Regions from separate parts of the Homo sapiens genome. Here region 1 is linked to region 2. The links are contacts of gene promoters, found by promoter capture Hi-C in blood cells and fetal thymus (Javierre and others, 2016). All regions are on one chromosome and are shown on one strand. The core of a region is centred on a gene start or on the middle of the fragment in contact, and the rest is flanking DNA. Distances in the headings are between cores, read along the strand shown.

The links. The method cuts DNA at HindIII sites, captures the fragments that hold promoters and counts their contacts. A CHiCAGO score of 5 or more calls a contact.
Region 1: a contact is called between a fragment that was not itself captured here and the fragment with the promoter of SMIM3 in region 2, in 6 of 17 cell types (M2 macrophages, megakaryocytes, neutrophils and 3 more). The highest score is 7.9, in M2 macrophages.

Annotation. Positions count from the first base shown.
Region 1 is chr5:150,547,041-150,550,120 of GRCh38, forward strand. It overlaps NDST1 (N-deacetylase and N-sulfotransferase 1), which reads left to right. Exons shown (of 15, transcript NM_001543.5): 12 at 1,178-1,348; 13 at 2,638-2,747. Among named protein-coding and RNA genes, the nearest start is that of NDST1, 40 kb to the left of the region's middle. The HindIII fragment of the contact is 5,123 bases long and covers 1-3,080 here.
Region 2 is chr5:150,777,424-150,780,295 of GRCh38, forward strand. SMIM3 (small integral membrane protein 3) reads left to right here and starts at 1,334. Exons shown (of 2, transcript NM_032947.5): 1 at 1,334-1,549. It overlaps LOC124901110, which reads right to left. Exons shown (of 2, transcript XM_047417995.1): 1 at 2,484-2,872; 2 at 1-2,128. The coding sequence starts at 1,698. The coding sequence ends at 1,057. RefSeq lists a silencer at 1,229-1,418 and an enhancer at 1,856-2,717. The HindIII fragment of the contact is 6,508 bases long and covers 1-2,872 here.

The DNA of each region.
Region 1 (3,080 bases), core at 43-2,542, 230 kb before region 2:
CTGCTGTACATCTGCACCTTACTGGAGAGTCACAGCTGGTTTCTAGAAGGCAGAGGAGGGGTTTCACGTTTGTGTCCCCTTCTCAAAGATTAGAAAACCAAGTTTCAGCAAGTTTCATGTGGTGGCATTTGAATCCAAGTCTTCTAAATCTAAGACCCTATTCCTTTTTCTGTCCATGATCAAGAGGGGTAAGGGATAGAAGGAGAAGGGAGACTCATTCTCCCCAGGAGGACCTGGGAAGATGTTGGAGGAGAGGAAGGGTGGGGGCCTGTCTCAGAAGGAGGTCGGGACGAGGAGGACGCTGCTGTGCACCATATTGCCCCAGCCCTGGGCTGTGTGTGATCCTCAGGGGAGGGGGTTGGCGGCTGGGGGATAGTGCCTGTCGCACAGGTGCCTGAGCTCTGGCTTTCTGGACTTAGTGAATTCTGCAGATTCGGACCTCCCATGGCATTATTTTAAGTGATTCAGACCAGCCAGTCTCCCTTTTATAGTTCTTTCCCAGTCCTTCTGATTTCCATAAAGGAGAAATGCTCACTTTAGTGCAAGTGGTCTTACGTCCTTTCTAACACTGTCAACCTCTGCTTTCAACAAAGAGAGCATGTTCAGGGCCTGTTGCACACATTTGTGTCTGGCTGGAGTTTGAGAACATTGTTTTTATTGCCATTTGTGAGTGGTTGCCTTCTATATATGACAACAGTGCAGCAGCGTGATCTTGGCTCACTGCAACCTCCACCCCCCGAGTTTAAGCGATTCTCGTGCCTCAGCCTTCCGAGTAGCTGGGACCACAGGTGTGCACCACCATGCCAGCTAATTTTTGTATTTTTAGTAGAGACGGGGTTTCGCCACATTGGCCAGCTGGTCTCGAACTCCTGACCTCAAGTGATCCACCCACCCCAGCCTCCCAAAATTCTGGGATTACAGGCATGAGCCACCATGCCTGGCATCAGGAAACCCTGATTTCGTCCAGTTCCCGTATTTCAAAGATGGAGAAGTTGGGGCTCTGGGACCAGTGGCTTCCCTTGACACTGGACACAGTGAGAGGCAGAGCCAGGACTCAGACCCAGAGCTCCTGGGTCCAGCTGAGGATCTTCTGGCCACCTTGCGGGCTGCTGTCCCTCTCAGGCCACTTCCTTTGTGTCCTCCAAGTGGCATGCTGACCCTCTTTCCTTGCCTGCAGCACCAGCGAGCCCATGACGACCCAGTGGCCCTAAAGTACACCTTCCATGAGGTGATTACCGCCGGCTCTGACGCATCCTCGAAGCTGCGTGCCCTCCAGAACCGCTGCCTGGTCCCTGGCTGGTACGCCACCCACATCGAGCGCTGGCTCAGTGCCTATCACGCCAACCAGGTAGCTGCTGTCCCTGACCCTTGTGAGGGCAGTCACAGTACTGGCTTGCTGTGGTTAGCGGAGAGCCTCCAACTCTTTCTCACCAGCCGTGGGGACAGATATGCCCTCCTTGGAGAGCTAGACCCTTGGGTCTATAAAAAGATTTTATTATTATTATTATTATTTTGAGACAGGGTCTCACTCTGTTGCCCAGGCTGGAGTGCAGTGGTGTGATCTCAGCTCACTATAGCCTCGATGTCCCGAGCTCACGCAATCCTTCCACCTCTGCCTCCTGAGTAGCTGGGACTACAGGTGTGAGCCACTGTACCCAGCTAATTTTATTTTTTTAAGAAATAAGGTCTTACTATGTTGCCCAGGCTGGTCTCAAACTCCTGGGCTCAAGCAGTCCTCCCTTGGTCTTCCAAAGTGCTGGGATTACAGGCATGAGCCACTGCACCTGGCCTAAAAAGACTGTAGACCTGTTTATCCCAAGGTTGATACATGAGAACTCCCCAAGCCTGTGTCCCATCACCACAGGCCCTGTAGCCCTAAAGGGACCCAGAAAGCCCTGAGGCAGGCAGGTGGGAGCAAGGAGACTGGGCGTGGTGATGGAGGGAGAGCCTGATCATACCAGGCTGTTTATGTATTTATTTATTTATTTAGAGACGGAGTCTCGCTCTGTCTCCCAGGCTGGAGTGCAGTGGCACGATCTTGGCTCACTGCAACCTCTGCCTCCCGGGTTCAAGCGTTTCTTCCACCTCAGCCTCCCAAGTAGCTGGAATTACAGGCATGCACCACCACGCCCAGATAATTTTTGTATTTTTAGTAGAGACGGGATTTCACCATGTTGGCCAGGCTGGTCTTGAACTCCTGACCTCAAGTCCTCTGCCCACCCCAGCATCCCAAAGTGCTGAGATTACAGGTGTGAGCCACCGTGCCCGGCCATGCCCAGCCATACCAGGCCTTTTAGGCAAACTTGCGGAGTGTTTGAGCAGGAGAGTGACATGGACTGGAAGCTCAGAGAGAGGCCAGAGAGGGATGTTTGTAGGGACCTGAGGGGCAGGCAGGGTTTGGTGAGAGCTTAAATTCTAGGAGAAATGGCATTGGGCAGCAGAAGCTGGTGGAAAGCAGGCGTGAGACCACAGAGGCCTGAGCTTGGGGATACCTGCCCTTCAACAGGGGAGGAGGAGCCAGTTCTAGAGGGTGCAGGGTCCCATATTTATAAGCAGGCCCATTCCTGCTGCCGTGGCTGTTGCCCTTGTTTGCCACCGAAGTCAAAGCAGGTCCCGATCCCCTTTCTCCCTTTCCAGATTCTGGTCTTGGATGGCAAACTGCTTCGCACAGAACCTGCCAAAGTGATGGACATGGTGCAGAAGTTCCTTGGGGTGACCAACACCATTGACTACCACAAAACCTTGGCGTGAGTGTTGCCTTTTCCTTTCTGCAGGTTATTTCCCTGATAAGGCACCTGGGCCAACAAAGCCAAAGTCTTGAATAATTATGAGAGAGAGAAGTTAGTTAGAGTCAGAAAGTATGGAAAGTTATTAATATGACTTAAGTCATATTAATAAAGGTATCACCTTAAAAAAAAGGGAGATGATGAATCTGTTCTACTCTGGTCAGACCATCCTGGGGTCTTCTCTTTGGTCTGGGCTGAACATTTTCAGAGTGTTTTATGTAAGTAAATTAGATCAGTAATGAGCAGCCCTAATTCCCACAAGATTTTCTTAGCATTAGCTTTTTTTTTTTTTTT
Region 2 (2,872 bases), core at 84-2,583:
ATGGAGTTACCAGTTGTCCACCCAAAGGAACTCTCATCCCCTTCACTAACCAGGGAAAATGTCATATTAAGATTGTCCTCCTGTTGCAGTGAGCCGAGATCATGCCACTGCACTCCAGCCTGGGCGACAGAGCGAGACTCCGTCTCAAAAAAAAAAAAAAAAAAAAAAAAGATTGTCCTCCTTCAATCTTTTTTTACTATTAAATGAGAGCTTTGTATTAAACTATTCAGAATTGGGTTGTCCTTGTTTTTAGGTTCCCACACTATCTCTTTTGAATAAAACATGTTGTTGGGTGACAGCCCTTAGGGTTTTTCTCAAATCATTTCTCATGTGAATCCCCTTCATCCTCACTGTCCTTCCCTTAAGAAACTGGCGTGTGATAATGATGATTTAGAGGTCATTTCTGCTGACCTCATCCCTGAATCAGAGGAAACAGCATGGAGTAAGTTCTAAGTTCGGGGCCCACACCATATCAAATTTAGGCCTGGGGAAGGCAGTATGGCTCTTTCCAAACCCTCCAAAACACTACTGGGCTCCAAGACTGCTCAAGGTCTCACTGATAGTCAAGGCTTGTGCTCCTTTTTTTCAGAAGAGTAAGATTAAAGAAAACCACTGTGAATTAAAAAGTGTGGGTGCCAACATGGGACGGGAGTCCCCCCTCACTCCATGGATGACATAGAGGGGGCAGAAGATTACAGAATTGGCATTGTCCTGCGTGGAAGCTGGGCCACCCACAGTGGCGTGGGAAGCCTCTCAGATGCTGGATTCTAATGGGCTCTTGATCACCTTGGATTGGGCTATTTCATTGTTATCACAAAATAAACAGGATGCTCCAAGTCATGTTATGGCAGAGAACCAACCAGCTTCACACTGGTCCTCTAAACCAATCCTCACAACAGGACTGGGAGACAGGTGTTACCTTTCCCACTTTACAGAGAATGAAACAGAGTGGCAAAGCCTCCGAAGGACCCTACACTTCGGACATCGCAAAGCAGGATCTGAGTCCCGGCTCCTCTGTCCAAACCTACTTGCTAGGCTTTCTTTCCCATGTCTACTCTATAGCTGGAAAGGTCGTGGAGGACACATTTTAGGCCAACCCTCTCGGTTTACAATCCAGAGAGGGGAGACCCTCAGAAGCCAAGCGACATGTCCACGGCTACGCGGCGAGTGTGTGGCAACGTGGAAGGGGAGCCCGAGACGCCCTGGTCTCTCCCTTCTCTCGCAGGTTCCTTTCTCCCCGAACGCAGCCCGCAGGGGACGCTGGAGGAGGAGCTGAGCTGGAGTTGCCGGGGCCCCGGGACCGGGCGTTCCGGGGGCGGTCCCCAGCAGCCGCGCATTCCAGAGCCAGCAGCGCGTCCTGGCCGCTCCTGCGCTCTCCCGCCTCCCGGGGCTCGGAGGAGCCGGGGCACGTTCCAGGAGCTGCCTAGGGCTGAGGTTCCAGGCCTGGGGGTCGCTTCCAGCTGCCAGATCCCGTGCAGTCCTGGGGACCCTGAGAAGCACCGAGCCATCCCTGACCCAGGAACTTTCCGCAGACTCGCCGCCATCTGGGGTGAGTGGGGCCACCGGGGGATTGTTTGTGGGGCTCTGGCAGAGCGGAGCTCTTCGGATTCGCGACCTACCTCTAGTGCGGCCCCTTTCCCCGGGCTCCCAACGTTCTTCTTTATGTCCGGTCTCTCCTCCCCATTTCTCCCTTTTCATCACTTTTGTATTTCTTGCCCTCACCCCCTCCTTTTTCTCCTGCTGTCAGCTCTTAAGTTCGAGCCTCCTAGTGCACAGAATTTTGGGCCTGGGGGAGGCGGAGCTTGGGTGGGCGAACCCCAGCCCCACTCGGAGACTGGCTTCTCTCCGGGTCCGCTGCCCTTGCCTTCTCGGGAAGCCTCCTCCTCGGGCAGACTGCCACCTCCTGGCTCTCCAGGCCCAGCGTCAGGGTTCAGCGCCCGGGCCTGAGCACCTGCTTGGGCGCTGCGCTGGGTTTGGGTCTTTGCACTTACCTGTCCCGCTTTTCTCGAGGCCCCGTGTAGAAGGCGCCAGGAGTTTGGAGTCAGGAGTGGCGGGTTCCAGCCCTGGTTCTGTCACTAACTGCTTCACCATCCTTGTTTTTCCATCAGTGAAATTGGGAAAACATTTTCTGCGTGCAGAAAGCAAAGGAGAAAGGACATGAGCAAAGTATCTTGGAGAGAAGGCTTCCTTCAAGCTCCCTCCTGCTGGTTAGCTGTCCCTTTCCTGAGGACGTAGTTGTTCCAGTTGCTGGTTGTTTTGCTCCCTAGTCTCCCCCATGCCAGTTTCTTGAGGGTAGGGACTGCCTGTCTATCGTCATCTCTGAGGCATTCTCAGCTCTTGGAGCAGGGCCTGGCTAACAGTAGGTGCTCCATACATATGTACTGAGTGAAAGGATGAAAGGTGTAACCCCCCCCGCCCCCCCCACAAATTGAAACAAACCTCAGGGGCTGTTATTCTGATTGAGGGCCAGGCTGGGCTCTTACTTATGCAGCTGCACTTGTTTCTTCTGGACCAGCTGGAATCCTGCTGCACCTGGGGGCTGAGGAGTCTCCGGTTCATCTGTGGTGAATACTAAGGTCCTCAAAGCTCCAGGGTGTGGTGGTGAAGGCTGCGCAATCACACAAGTATCAGAGATTCCTTGAACATCTGCTATGATGCGTGCTGCTACTGCAGTGGCCACATAGTTTGGAAGGATTGGGGATGCCTGAATTAGGTGGAGGTGGGAGCGGGAAGAACAGGTACTCTGGGGGTTAGGAGACCCTCTGAATTACCCTAATGGAGGCATTTCCCCTCTCTGGCCCTTGTCTTCCCTATCTGTAAAATGAAGACATGGGAGTGGAACAGATGTTTGTCTGTGGTTGAGCATGACATG